3 separate regions of the Homo sapiens genome follow, and regions 1 and 2 are each linked to region 3. The links are contacts of gene promoters, found by promoter capture Hi-C in blood cells and fetal thymus (Javierre and others, 2016). All regions are on one chromosome and are shown on one strand. The core of a region is centred on a gene start or on the middle of the fragment in contact, and the rest is flanking DNA. Distances in the headings are between cores, read along the strand shown.

What was found. Contacts are between HindIII fragments. The CHiCAGO score rates a contact against its expected background, and 5 or more counts as called.
Region 1: a fragment that was not itself captured here is called in contact with the fragment with the promoter of MIOX in region 3 in 5 of 17 cell types (fetal thymus, M0 macrophages, M1 macrophages and 2 more); the score reaches 7.6 in fetal thymus.
Region 2: a contact is called between a fragment that was not itself captured here and the fragment with the promoter of MIOX in region 3, in 2 of 17 cell types (fetal thymus and naive CD4 T cells). The highest score is 5.3, in fetal thymus.

What each region holds. Positions count from the first base shown.
Region 1 is chr22:50,144,193-50,149,059 of GRCh38, reverse strand. It overlaps MOV10L1 (Mov10 like RNA helicase 1), which reads right to left. Exons shown (of 27, transcript NM_018995.3): 18 at 4,817-4,867; 19 at 3,250-3,371. Among named protein-coding and RNA genes, the nearest start is that of PANX2, 24 kb to the left of the region's middle. The HindIII fragment of the contact is 7,030 bases long and covers 1-4,867 here.
Region 2 is chr22:50,159,405-50,164,282 of GRCh38, reverse strand. It overlaps MOV10L1 (Mov10 like RNA helicase 1), which reads right to left. Exons shown (of 27, transcript NM_018995.3): 24 at 4,498-4,605; 25 at 3,458-3,595; 26 at 3,228-3,319; 27 at 2,596-2,915. The coding sequence ends at 2,834. Among named protein-coding and RNA genes, the nearest start is that of PANX2, 8.9 kb to the left of the region's middle. The HindIII fragment of the contact is 4,494 bases long and covers 1-3,500 here.
Region 3 is chr22:50,485,302-50,490,169 of GRCh38, reverse strand. MIOX (myo-inositol oxygenase) reads right to left here and starts at 3,311. Exons shown (of 10, transcript NM_017584.6): 1 at 3,258-3,311; 2 at 2,705-2,785; 3 at 2,428-2,508; 4 at 2,122-2,284; 5 at 1,828-1,895; 6 at 1,021-1,130; 7 at 875-942; 8 at 724-773; 9 at 526-638; 10 at 1-422. The coding sequence starts at 3,272. The coding sequence ends at 314. ADM2 (adrenomedullin 2) reads right to left here. Exons shown (of 3, transcript NM_001253845.2): 3 at 3,733-4,868. The HindIII fragment of the contact is 4,673 bases long and covers 1-3,752 here.

The DNA of each region.
Region 1 (4,867 bases), core at 902-3,401, 340 kb after region 3:
GCCACTCTCAGCTGGGCACTGCCTGGCCTGCATGCCAATAGGCTGAGGCCCTGGGAGCCACTTCCCAATCTGCGGCACCATTAAGAAAATGGGGTTGGTCGGGCGCAGTGGCTCACGCCTGTAATGCCAGCACTTTGGGAGGCCGAGATGGGTGGATCACGAGGTCAGGAGATCAAGACCATCCTGGCTAACACGGTGAAACCCCGTCTCTACTCAAAATACAAAAAAATTAGCCGGGTGTGGTGGCGGGCGCCTGTAGTCCCAGCTACTCGGGAAGCTGAGGCAGGAGAATGGCGTGAACCTGGGAGGCGGAGCTTGCAGTGAGCTGAGATCGCGCCACTGCACTCCAGCTTGGGTGACAGAGCAAGACTCCATCTCATAAAAAAAAAAAAAAAAGAAAAAAAGAAAATGCGGTCTCTAGAATGGCTCCCCACAATTCTGGCCCCTGCTGCAAACTCAGTGAGGTTCCCAGCTACAGAGCAGCCCTCCTGGCGGGTACCTGTCCGGCTCTTCCTTCTCCGTGTGACAAGGGAGGTAAGGGAGGTGCAGGAGCAGAGAGTCCACAGCGTTGCTGATGGACGGGGTGGGGATTTTGCGGGAAGGAGTCGTCAGGAGAAGCTGCGGAACTCTTGCATGGGAAGGCTGTGGGACTGAGCGGAGAGCAGGAGCTCGCTCGGCACATGATCTGTTTCTAGAGTGCAGAGGGGCCACCCCACCTGGGGCCATGAGCTGAGGAACAGGTGCCCCGGCTTCCCTGGCTCGCCCACCCCAGCAGCTTCTGCTCTGTGGTCAGGAGGCCTCAGTGGGGAAATGCTCTTGGGGCAGAAACATGTCCTGATGCCTGAGGAAGCAGGTATGGGGCAGAGAGAGTGTCCGGAGCCACGCCAACACTCAACAGGACGCACCTTGGGCCCGCACCGTCCTCACTGCCGAGCCCACGTTTACCCTTCTCACTGCTGATTCCAGGATCTCCCCTCTCCAACCCTAGATGCTGGGCAAATCCATCACCTCTGAGCCTCAGGTGTCCCACTGTGGGGTGAGACCCTGTGGTCAGACCTGTGCGGGGGCGGGCTCCTGCTTACAGCAGTGCTGGGCCCAACATGTCCTGCATCCACTCACGGTCAGCTGACACCTTTCACTTCAGGTATCAATGTGTAACTCTCAAGACACGGATTTCACAAGTGACACCGTGAACCCCTCCCAGTGAAAGATGTGGAAATCAGCAAACTGCCATTTCCCCATCTCATGTCCCTATTTCTGTTGAAAAAAATTAACATTATGTATCTTTCCTAGAATGTAAGTATTTAGGTTTCAATTCTGTATTAATTGCAGTTATTTAATGTCACTTTTGCCAGATGACATTGCTACTTCTTTGCCCTTTGAAGTGCCCCTCCCCACTCCAGCCGCCCCCAGTGGCCAACTAACGCTGTGGGGCCTCTGCAGCTGGGCTGCAGCACCCTCCCTGCTTCTGCACAGAGCGCCTCTGAGAGAGCGGCCTGCAGCACCCTCCCTGCTTCTGCACAGAGCGCCTCTGAGAGAGCGGCCTGCAGCACCCTCCCTGCTTCTGCACAGAGCGCCTCTGAGAGAGCGGCCTGCAGCACCCTCCCTGCTTCTGCACAGAGCGCCTCTGAGAGAGCGGCCTGCAGCACCCTCCCTGCTTCTGCACAGAGCGCCTCTGAGAGAGCGGCCTGCAGCACCCTCCCTGCTTCTGCACAGAGCGCCTCTGAGAGAGCGGCCTGCAGCACCCTCCCTGCTTCTGCACAGAGCGCCTCTGAGAGAGCGGCCTGCAGCACCCTCCCTGCTTCTGCACAGAGCGCCTCTGAGAGAGCGGCCTGCAGCACCCTCCCTGCTTCTGCACAGAGTGCCTCTGAGAGAGCGGCCTGCCCTGGCCGGCCACCTCCTCCCACTACCTGAACATCAGCTCCAGGGTGCAGGGTCCATGCAGTGCCCGCTCTGCCCCCAAAGAGCCCTCTGCACCCCAGTGAGGACTGGCTCTTCGGCTCTTGACCTTTGACTCATCAACACACATTAACAAAAAAAATCCCTGTCTTGTTCAGATCCGTGCTGTCCAATCCGGTAGCCACACACGGCTCTCGGGCACCGCACAGTGGCTAGTCTGAAACCTGACATGCTCTAAGTGTAAAATACATGGTGGATTTTGAAGACTTGAACCAAAAAAAATGTAAAGTGTCTCATCAATCACGTTCTACTAATCTCATGATGAAAGGACATCATGTATGTGAGAGAGTTAAACGCGCCGATGAAACCATCCGTGACACGCTGTGATAGGCGTGGCTGGCTGTGCCTTTGCTCCATGTGGAGCTGACGGACCACCTCCTGTGGTCACCCTCACGACCACCGTGACGCTGGACACTGTCCAGGGTGACCTGTCTCCAGGCTGTCAGGGAGGGTCACGACCACTGTGACGCTGGACACTGTTCAGAGCGACCTGTCTCCAGGCCGTCAGGGAGGGTGGGGCTTCCCTCAGAGGCCCTGGCTTCTCCCTCTCTCACCCTCAGCCTGTGCCCCCGACACTGTCTGGCTCTATGCACTGAGAGGGAGCTGCCTGCTGCCTCCCCGACCCCACCCCCCTGCACTGGGGTCTGAGAGTGCCTTGGTCCTCACTCAGCCTCCCTGGGCTCGAAGCTCTTCCTCCCAGCCCCCAGGGGAGGTCCTCCTATGACAGCCGGCACCCCACAATCCATCTCCTCCGCCTGTCTCCCCTGAAGAGCCCCCAGCGCCAGGGACACAAATGGCCCCCAGGGTCTGACCTTACAGAGCCCAGCCGTTTCCTAGGCAGCCTGCCTCCCCACGCCCACTCCAAGAGACTCACTCTCCTGCTCAGAAGCCCTTCACTGGCTTCCCGGCTCACCAGAGGTCGTCCAAAGGCCCCTCCACAGCCCGCCAGGCCTCCCCCTCACCACCCCTTTCAGGCCGTTCCTGCTCACGAGGCTCTGGCTCTACAGTCTCCTTTGGGGAGACCTCAGTGCTCCCCCACCGCGGGGCCTCTGCATGGGCCAGTCCATCTGCCTGCCCATCCCACTGCTGGCTCCTTCGAGTCCTTGGGGTCTCGGCTTCCCCAGCTCCATTCAGGCACGGCCCTCCCCAACCAGCCTTTCTCGCCCACAGCCCTGCCTCCCTCCCTGAGCACTGAGTCTCTGGGTCATCCGCCCCTCAGACAGAAGCTAGGAGAGGACTCCGACCTCTGCCCTGGGAGGCCCCATGCCGCGCTCCATGCCCGGGGCTCACCTCACTCCTATTTGGTAAAACAGCCCTGAGCTGCTGCATGTGGTGATGATTATCCGGAAGCGTGAGGCTTTCCAGATGTCTTCTCCGTCTCTGCAATACGGTTTGACGGCGTCAATAACTATCTGGGGGCAAGGAGGCGTAGAGTTAGTTTACTCCTCCAATTATTAAGCAGAATTCCAAAAGGGAACCTTGCCCTGGTACCACTTCTTAGTTACGTCTAAGTCATGATTTAAGGTTTTTTTCTCAAAATATCTCATACTTCCTTATCAATTCAGTCCATGTTTTATCAACTCTAGAGCCACAAATATAACACATAATCCTGCAGACCCTTCCCCAAAACAACTTTGTACATTTTCTATTCAGTTTGTTTGTTTGTTTATTTAGAGAGGGAGTCTTGCTCTTGCTCTGTCGCCCAGGCTGGAGTGCAATGGTGCAATCTCGGCTCACTGCAACCTCTGCCTCCCAGGTTCAAGTGATTCTCCTGCTTCGGCCTCCGGAGTAGCTGGGATTACAGGCGCATGCCACCACGCCCAGCTATTTTCAATGTCTTTTTTAAACGCAATATTTCAGGCTGGGCACAGTGGCTAAAGCCTGTAATCTCAACACTTTGGGAGGCAGAGGCGGGTGGATCACTTGAGATCAGGAGTTCGTGACCAGCCTGACCAACATGGTGAAACCCTGTCTCTACTAAAAATACAAAATTAGCTGGATGTGGTGGCACACACCTGTAATCCTAGGTACTTAGGAGGCTGAGGCAGGAGAATTGCTTGAACCCGGGAGGCGGAGGTTGCAGTTAGCCAAGATCACACCACTGCACTCCAGCCTGGGCAACAAGAGCAAAAACTCTGTCTCAAACAAACAAAAAAATAAAAGCAATACTTCGCTCTATAACCAAACCAGCAACTTAAAGGAATACTTAAAACCAAACCAGGCCGGGCACGGTGGCTCACGCCTGTAATCCCAGCACTTTGGGAGGCCGAGGCGGGCAGATCATGAGGTCAGGAGATCGAGACCATCCTGGCTAACACGGTGAAACTCCGTCTCTACTAAAAATACAAAAAATTAGCCGGGCGCAGTGGCGGGTGCCTGTAGTCCCAGCTACTTGGGAGGCTGAGGCCAGAGAATGGTGTGAACCTGGGAGGCGGAGCTTGCAGTGAGCCGAGATCATGCCACTGCACTTCAGCCTGGGCGACACAGCGAGACTCCGTCTCAAAAAAAAAAAACAAAACAAAACAAAAAACACCAAACCAACAAAACAAAACTACTTAAAAAGTAACAAGACGTTTGGGGATTAAATAAAAGAGGAATGTGATAATTTTACAATGCTACGAATGCCCACAATAGGTGTGATAACTCACACAGAGTGAGAATGTGATGAAATAGTCAGCAATCAAGCTCCACCATTTAGCGGTGAGGGAGGGCCCATGGCAGAGCCATTTCTCAAACACAGCTTTCTGTGGCGCCTCTGTGCCCACCCTCCTACCCCTGCCCTCCCCTGTCCACTTGGCATTTCCTATGTTCCAGGGAGGGGTTCTGGTGCCCCCCACTGCTTGCACCAAGGGCTCACCTCCTCGAACCTGCAGGTGGCGTTCACCCGGACCATGGTGGCCGGCTGTAG
Region 2 (4,878 bases), core at 4-2,503, 320 kb after region 3:
TGAAAGAACAGCTTGCTGGTGTCCTCTAAGTGGATGATGGTATCAAACTGTAATGGCATTTTTTGTTGCACTGGATACACTGAAAAGGAAAATGGCAAGATTTGGGCCGGGCGTGGTGGCTCATGCCTGTAACCCCAGCACTTTGGGAGGCCGAGGCAGGTGGATCACCAGGTCAGGAGATGGAGACCATCCTGGCTAACACGGTGAAACCCCGTCTCTACTAAAAATACAAAAAATTAGCCGGGCGTTGTGGCAGGCGCCTGTAGTCCCAGCTACTCGGGAGGCTGAGGCAGGAGAATGGTGTGAACCCGGGAGGTGGAGCTTGCAGTGAGCCGAGATCGCACCACTGCACTCCAGCCTGGGCGACAGAGCAAGACTCTGTCTCAAAAAAAAAAAAAATAAATAAAAAAAAAAATAAAATAAAATAAAAATAAATGAAATGGCAAGATTTATAATAAGCTGTGACTTACATCATAAGCACGTTTAAAATGTGAAGAAGAAAAATCTTAGATAACCAAAAAAACGAGGGAAGAGATGCACTCCCTTAAGGTTTCATTTAGGGGACTCCAAGCACCAAAGTTTAAGACCTCTGTGTAGCAGCCTGGCCAACATAGCAAGACCGTCTCTACAAATAATAATAAACAAATTAGCCAGCTGTGGTGGCACACGCCTGTGATCTCAACTACTTGGGAGGTTGAGGTGGGTGGAACACTTGAGCCCAGGAAATCGAGACCAACCTGGGCAACATGGCGAAACCCTGTCTCTACAGAAAATTAGCCAGGTGTGATGGCGTACACCTGTAGTGTCAGCTATTTGGGAGGCTGAGGTGGGAGGATCACCTGAGGCTGGGAGGTTGAGGACGCAGTGAGCCATGATTGTGCCACTGCACTCCAGCCTGGGCAACAGAGCAAGACCCTGTCTTAAAAAAAGCCCCAAATCCTGTGCAGACGACACCTGCCTGCAGGCCCCACTTGCCTTTGCTTCCCTTGCCTTGCTTTGCAGGGATTCATGGCTGGCTGAGCAGTGCTGCCTTCCCTGTAGCCTGGGCCCCTCCAGGGCAGCCTCCTCACTGACCTCCTTCTCTTCCCCTCCCTCCCTGTCACCTGACAGCCTCCCTGCCACTCTTGCACCAGCAAACAGGTGCCCCGAGTCCTTTATAGAATGACCCCGCCTGGTCTCCTGCCACCCTGGGCACACGCCAGATCATTGCTGAGGTGTCCCCCAGCTGAGGACACCTGCCCAGCCTCAACACTGGCTCCCCACGTCTCTGCCCAAGAGCACTCCCTCAAGTGTGGACCCCACACCTGCTTCTTGCGTCTCTCCCACCTGCCAGGACATCCAGGTCACTGAGCCCAGAGAGGTGGCCTCTCAGTGTCAGGGCTGACCCCAATGATCCCCTCACCTGGGTCAGAAAAGTCCCCAGCCTCCGTGGGGGGCATCCCTTCGATTTGGGGTTGACAGGATGGAGAGGTCCTTGCCCTAGGACTTCTGCTCTGCAGAGAGAGTCCAGCAAACGCTGGCTGCAGGAGCACTGGGCACAGCGGCCTCCACGCATGGGGGCTCTGCCTGGGCCTCCACGCACCCCTTAGCACAGCAATGACAGCTCTGCCTGGAGAAACCCTTCAGTTCCTAAACACAACTCATGCAGAAGCCACAGCAGGTGATGCCGCATGCAGTCCTGGGCCCTGACATGACGCCGCCTGTCTGGAAAGTGCTTCCTCCTACATCAAGTACTCCCTGGAGTTGTGACCACAGATCTTAGCATCACCCACAAGTTTAGTAAACAGACATGATCCCTGGTGTCTTGAGACCTTCAGGAGACAGTGGTTTCTGCTTGCCAAGCAGACGCTACCTCTAAGTGGAGACACTGAGCATTTGTTTCCTGGGAGCAAGTCGTGGGGGAGGGGGTGGGGGAGGGTGCAGGGCAAGGCTCCCAAACTTTGAGGTGGGCCAAGCCTGCACCCTTCTAGTCGGCTGCTGGTCTGTGTCTCGCTGTGGGGATGGGGGCATAGGCCAGGTAAGACCCCCCGTAAAGCGGTGTTGGCCTCCTCTGGGGCCCTGGGTGTATGCAGGCGGCATCTCCGAGCCTGGGGGTCCTGTGTTCCAGCCGGGCTGCTGTACTGAGACCCTGCACCAGGCTGAGGACAGTGCGGGGCTCACCCCAAGTGTTCTTCCTGCCACTGCTCTGCTCCTCCTGGCCTGAGGTGCGTTGCCCATCTCCACGTGTTTTATTTCTGGCCCAGAGATGTGTTCTAAGGACCCCTAAACTCAGTACCCCTAGGGTGCAGGCCTGCACCCAGGAACCCGCCCAGCTGCAAACTCCCAGAAGCACTGGGCCTAGGGCAGGCCTGAGTGCCACCCTCACAACCCTGGCCCCATGTAGAGCCTCAGGCCCTGTGGGCTCTGCATGCCTGGTCCATGGCCCTGGCGCTCTGCTGAGTGGAGCTGGCAGCCTTGCCTGGAGCCTGACACACGGCTAGTTCAGGTGAAGTGGACAGCAAGCCATCTCCAAAAACTGCGCCAGCAGGGCTGAGAGGCCACATGAAACCCTGGTCACCACTGACACGGGCACACATCTCGAGGTGGAAAGGCTTCTGGGGGTCACTCGAGGGTTTATTTCAGGGTAGGCGGCAGTGACTGCCCTGTGGCAGGAACAGGCTGGCATATGCCAAAGTCAGGGCAGCAGCAGCTGCGTCCAACCTGGCAGCCCCACACCCACACACGACCCTGCCTGGCTGCGAGACAAGGGCAGGCCACAGGAGCCACGGAGCAGACTGTAACGGCAACGTGGCCAGGCTGAGCACATGGCCTCCCTGCTGTCAGCCACTGCAGATCAGCTGGGCTCCTGATGCTTCTCTGGTCCTGTGGATTCTGGCACCACTGGGTAGGAGGGGTCTGCCACCCCCTCGCCACAGCTGTAGACAGAGGAGAAGCGGATGGCCAGTGAGCCAGGCTCCCACAGCGGGCTGGGAGCTGCACTCTTTTCCCAATGTGGGTTTTACAAGGGGACTTAGTTTACCCTGTTAGCCTATGTGGGAAAGGTGACATGACCCCAAATGTCCAGGAAACAGTGGCTGCTGCAGCCCAGGATGAGGTGAGGACGGTGGCCGGCAGAGGGCTAAGGCTGCAGGTGGGTAAGTGGATGGGGGTGAGGGGAGCAGGGGAGGGCAGGCTAGAGCACGTTCTAGAGCCAGCCTGTCTTTGAGGAAGACAGCAGAAGCGCTCACTTTTGCAGAGACTGCAGTGCAGGAGGTAAATCGCATCCCATGTAAACACCGTTTGTAATACTGTATTCCAGCAAAGCACCAAAACAGGGGTCCTGTTGGCAATAACAATTAGCCTGGTGTGAGAGCAAGTGAAGGCCCCATGTCTCCTGGTGCCTCGTACGTCTCACCCCGAGTGACCCGGACCCTCCCTCCTTAAGTGATCACAGCCCACCCAGTGCCTGAAAACTCACTCGAACGAGAACATGGGGGTTTCCCAGCACTATCAGCAAAGCTTTGGGTCTGGTGATTGCAACATTAAATCTTTTTGAGTTGGACAAGAAACCCAAAAAATATCGATCATCTTCAAATCTATCTTCATTTGACCGTACCTAAAAGCACACAGAGATGAATAAAAATGGCACTTGAAGTTTTTGGGGGGCATGAAGAGAAACTCTTGATATATAAAAACATTTAAAAATGTTAAATAGCAGAATGACCTCATTTTTGGTTCAAAAAGAAACAGGAGGCCGGGCGCGGTGGCTCACGCCTGTAATCCCAGCCTTTGGGAGGCCGAGGCGGGAGGATCACGAGGTCAGGAGATCGAGACCATCTTGGCTAACATGGTGAAACCCCGTCTCTACTAAAAATACAAAAAAAAAAAAATTAGCTGGGCGTGGTGGTGGGCGCCTGTAGTCCCAGCTACTCGAGAGGCTGAGGCAGGAGAATGGCGTGAACCCGGGAGGCAGAGCTTGCAGTGAGCCGAGATCGCGCCACTGCACTCCAGCCTGGGCGACAGAGCGACGCCATCTCAAAAAAAAAAAAAGAAAGAAAAAAAGAAACAGGAGGTGGGGGGAGGGGGAGAAGGGGGAGGAGGAAGGGCAGCAGAAAGGGGTGGGTCTCATCGGCACTCCATCTGCAGACAGGGAGCCCTCACGCTTGCGGCTGTCTGGATGGCGGGGTCTTAGGGGCTCTCCTGCGGGTACCTGCCCTCCCACTCTCTGCTCCTCAGCTGCCTGTTCTTCCAACTTCGTGTCCCTCCTTCTCCAAGGCATTCACCATGTCTTCCTGGGTCCCTTCTCTTTACTCTCCTGTGTCTTAGTCTTTGAGTATTGTTTTAAAAGACCTTCCCACAGCCACTGCTTACAATGGCTCCTGGACCTAGGGAGTCTCCGCCTGCAGCTGCTTCTCTGGGCTGGGAATCAGCCTCTGCCCCTTTAGATCTGAAGCCCCCAGAACCCCCAGGGCAGCAAGCACCTGACTGTCCATCCCCACGGAGAACAGGGATACCTACGGTCGAAATGATGATGACCAGATACTCTTGTCCTTGAAACTCCTCTACTGATCCAACCTTTATATCCATCAGATCAACATTACGCAAAAGAATTCTGATTTTCTCCACCTTGAGAACAGATTAAAAGAAAGACTAAAGATAACACTGTACAAATCCATTTCTTTTCTTTTCCTTTTTTTTTTTTGAGATGGAGTATTACTCTGTCACCCAGGCTGCAGTGCAGTGGCGTGATCTCGGCTCACTGCAACCTCTGCCTCCCGGGTTCAAGCAATTCTCCTGCCTCAGCCTCCTGAGCAGCTGGGATTATGGGTGCATGCCACCACACCCGGGTAATTTTTTGTATTTTTTAGTAGAGAGAGGGTTTCACCATATTGGCCAGGC
Region 3 (4,868 bases), core at 2,062-4,561:
TTTACCACGGCCAGTGTGGTGGGACACACACACCTGAAAGCCTGGGACTTGGCCTCCACCCTGCTGGCACCATCCCTCGGCCTGGGCCACGCCCTGCTGCAGTAACACCCAGTGGGGCTTCAGAAGCACAACATCCTTCCAGGTCTTTATTGACGCCAGGCACAAGTTGCCGTGAGGGGTGGCGACCCTAAGGGGGTGAGTGGGGTCCCCCACCGAGGTGAACCCTGATGGCGGCTGTTTGCCCAGGGCCAGGCCTCTCCAGGCAGGCGGAGGGCCAGGCCTAGGTCCAGCAGCAGCTTGGGTGGCAGGAGGGTCACCAGCTCAGGATGCCAGGGCAGTACTTGTCAATGAGCCCCTGGTAGTAGGGCCGCAGCTTGTCCACGTCCGGCAGGTCCGGGCACTTGGTGTAGAGGTCGAACTTGCTGCAGCAGGGAGGGGCGGTGAGCCCCGTGAAGAACCCCCAGGCCCCCCACCCAACCCCCTCTTTCACTCCCACAACACCCCTCGGCGGGTAGCGGGGCGTACTTGAACTCCCGCACCCAGGGCAGCATGGCCAGGTCCTGCTGGCTGCACAGCTGCTGGTAGTCGCGGCCCGTGTGCCAGGGGTAGAAGGAGTGGAACCGGATCATGTAGAAAGCCTGCGGGCAAGGCCACCCAGCGGCTCACTTGGGGCTGCAGGACCGGGCCTGGTGGACGGGCTGCGTTGCCCCTCCCCCCACCTACCTCAGGGGGCAGTGAGAACTTGTTAAACTTCATCACCTGGTACATGTACTCTGTGGGGAGAGGGTGTCACCAGCAGGCACTGCCTCTGCCCCACCGCCCCCCACCGTCCCCCACCGCCCCCCACCGCCCCACTGCCCGCCTCTGGCCTCACCATCATGGCCCCAGGACATGAGGACCCTGTCGAGCCCACAGTGGGGCTGATACATCCCGAGCTCTGTGCTGCAGTGAGATACCAGGGTGAGGAGGGCTCAGCAGCCGCCCAGGGAAGGGGGCCCAGCCCTCAGCAGCAGGGAGCACCTGTATCGAGGATCCTGGAGGTCAGGGTTGTCCTGGAAGGTGGAGTCGCAGAAAACCACGGAGGCCTGCGGACGGCATCCGACGGGGAAGGTGTCGCCGACGACAGCCCACTGCAGAGGGACAGGAGGGACGGGAGGCCATGGGGGGAGTGGGGGAAGGTGTCGCCGATGACCACCCACTGCAGAAGGACAGGAGGGACGGGCGGCCATGGGGGGAGTGGGGGAAGGTGTCACCGATGACTGCCCACTGCAGAGGGACAGGAGGGACGGGCGGCCATGGGGGGAGTGGGGGAAGATGTTGCCGATGACTGCCCACTGCAGAGGGACAGGAGGGATGGGAGGGACGGGAGGGACAGGAGGGACGGGAGGGATGGGAGGGACAGGAGGGACAGGAGGGACAGGCAGCCATGGGGGGCCGTGGGGGAAGTGGGGGAAGGTGTCGCCGACGACCGCCCACTGCAGAGTGACAGGAGGGACAGGCGGCCATGGGGGGCCGTGGGGGGAGTGGTGCGGGGAGGCCGTGGGGGGTGCACTGGCCTGTCCCCCAGGTAGTATCCCAGGCCAAGCACCGAGGCCACCAGAGGGACAGGCAGCCGTGGGGGGGGCCGTGGGGGGTGCACTGGCCTGTCCCCCAGGTAGTATCCCAGGCCAAGCACCGAGGCCACCAGAGGGACAGGCAGCCGTCGGGGGGCCGTGGGGGGTGCACTGGCCTGTCCCCCAGGTAGTATCCCAGGCCAAGCACCAAGGCCACTCCACCCCCACCTTGCCTCAACATGCAGCCTCCTCACCCTCCACTTCCAACTCTTACCTGGGGCTCCCCGAACAGGGCCAGGACCTTCCCCAGGTCGTGCAGGAGCCCGACGAGGTGGAACCAGTCTGGGAGGGGGATGGACAGGGCAGGTTGGGGACTGCAGGGGCCAAGGCAGAGGATGAGCAGGTTTGCGGGGCTGAGAGCCAGGAAGGGTCCAGGGCCTGCTCCCCAACCCAGGCAGGGCTGCTGGAGGAGGCCTGGGCCCACTACTGTCCCCTCCCACCCTACAGGCTGCTGCATTCTGCCCCTTGGAGGCAGCACCTGCCCCCCTGCAGCACAGCCAGGGCTCACCCTTGTCTGGGTGGGCCTTCCGGATGCCCTCCGCTGTCTGGAAGGCATGGAAGGAGTTGGGGAAATCTACGTCCGGGTCCGACTCATCCACCAGCCCATCCAGCAGGTCCACGGCCTCCATGACTGTCATTTTCTTGTAGGAGAAGCCCCCAAACTGGGCATGCTGGCGGGGAAGGAGAAGGCAGTGTGGCCCAGGGTCAGCAGGCCCACCACACAGGCCTCTCCATCCCCTCGGCGCCTGGTGGGCTCATGGGGCTGAGGGCAAGGGTCCCTCCGCGTTTGCACGGGGCGGCAGGAAACGCCTACCTTGCTCCTGACGAAGTCCACTGTCTGGTGCGTGTGCATGAGCTTGTAGGTGGTGAAGACACGGTCCAGGAGGGGACCTGACTGCAGGCCGGAGGGTCAGTGGCGCCACCCCCACCCTGCACACGAGGCCCCATGCCTCCCCTCTCCCAGGCAGCCCCACAGGGTGTGATGGGGGTGGGAGTTCCCACAGGGCACCCCCTGGAACTGTGTGAAGGGCAAGTGCTGCTCCCCAGGGTGTGGATGGGGGAGAAGGGGGGCAGGACGGCAAGGTACTCACCGTGTAGTTCCGGAAGCTGGCCTTGTCTTTGGCCACCTCTGGGTCCACATCAGGTCGGTAGACCAGGGAAGGGTCTGGGCCCTGGGTAGGTGGAGGATTGAACCTATTTCACCATCATGTCAGCTCCACGAGGAAGCACAGACATTCCCAGGGTGGCTGCAGACTCCAAGCCTGCCTCTGCTCGAGGGCTGGTGGGTGACACGCGAGGACACAGCCTCTCCCACGCCATCATCCCAGCCCCTGCCCTGGCCTCAGCGAGTCCCAGGAGCTCTCACTCCCAGGTCCTCATCTGCAAAGCGAAAGTCAGCAGACGTCTGCTTCCGGGGTACAGGGGACACCACGCCTGAGCGGCACCCATGGCCACCCTTGAGGGGTGGAAGTGGCTTTGGGAGGAGACTGAGTCCACAGGGAGCCTGGGGGTCGGCAGCCGCTGGCTCTTGCCCAGCTGGACGGAGGAGGAGGGCTGGCCAGTGCCAGCTAGAAGAGGGCGGGAGTGGCTGGCCACCAGGAGAGCAGTCAGCAGAGCCTCTCTGCATGGGGTCTGGGTACTCACCACCGTCACCTTCATCCTGAGAGGGAGCGGCGCTCAGGTGGCAAAGCACAGGCTGGCGAGTGTGTCCTCAGCCAGGCTCCTATATACACCCCAGGTTACATAAGTGTCCGCAGTAATAAATGACCATCCACCCTCCTCCCGGCCTCAGGGAGTTAATGTGTCAGCACAGCAGCAGCCCCCAGCAGTCCCACATCCTCTGGCCCTGACTCAGCCTCACACTCCTGTCCCGAGCCGCTGACCTGCCTAGGGTTATCTGTGGGCCCAGCCTCCCACTTGGGCCCTGGCCTTAGACCCCTCTGTGGGGTCCCACAAGTAGGGGCAGACCCAAGACCCCACCCTCAAGCACACGCCCCCTCTGCACCACCCCTTCCCCGGCTGCCCCACTGGATCTCAGGAGGTGAAAACTTGTCCCCAGGCCCCCCGTGATTCTGGGTGGGGCAGGAGCTTGTTAAGAAAAGATGATTCTGAGGACTTGTTAAAATGGTGAGAAAAGCTTTATTCAAGAGAGTGGTGAGAGGAGCTCACCTCCGAGTTCAACAACCACAGCTGGAGATTGATGGCGTTGGAGGGGTCAGCGGATGGGAAGTTGTTAGGGCGGCCTTCGAGGGTAGGGGGATTCTCACTGGAGTGGCTCAATGAGGATCTTGCAGGAGGCCGGCAGGGTGATGAGATCAAGGGTGGGAGATGAGGAATGGGATCAGATATCGAGGGTGGGTAATTCTCCATAAACTGATTTAGAGGATTCTTGCTAACACCGGGGTCGGCGGGCCCAGCGAGGATGGGGATGGGGTCAGGCCTCGTCGAGGAAAGGACTCAGGGGCACCTGCCTAGAGTTCGGCCACAGAGTGTGTCAGGCTCTGGGAGAGGGGCCTCACGGAGAGTTGGAGCAGGCACGGAACCGCCAACACCCAGGCCGCCAACGCAACTTCCCATGCATGGGCCCTGCAGGCATGGAGGACACCGTGAGAACAAAGTGCCCGCGGCAGAGCTGGCGTCTTGGAGCGTGGCCAGGGAAGTCTGGGAACAGCAGTCGGCTGGGGCAGGAGAGAGGGCAGTGGGGTGCTGGGGCCATACCTAGGGCTGTGAAGATCAGAGTTCTGGGCTTCAGGGGTCAGGCAAGAGGGCTGTGGGCAGCTGACCTGACTCAACAAGATCCTGGCACAGCTGAGCTGAGAAGCAACTGTGAGGAGACCCCAGCGCCCCCCATTTAAACGGCACCTGCCCCACACTCTCCTTCCTTGTCTGACTTCCTGTGGCACTCAGCACTCCCTGCCACTCCACCACCCACTTATTCTACCTTCTACGTTTGTCTCCTTCTATCTCCCCCTAGAATGTCAGCCCCTGGGGGTCAAGGCTGTATCCTCACGTGTCCCAACACGGGTAGGTCACGTGCTCAGCATGCACTGGCCAGAGGGATGCAGACAGGTGCCTGGGAGGAGGCTACGGCCATCGCCCCGAAAGCAGGTGGTGCCTGGGTCAGGAGAAGGTGTCTGGATAGGTTCAGGAGGTGGGACCGGGTGGGATTCAGAGGAAGGTGTGAAGGAAGAGAGGAGGTTTTTTTTTTTTGAAACGGAGTCTTGCTCTGTCATCCAAGCTTGAGTGCAGCAGCGC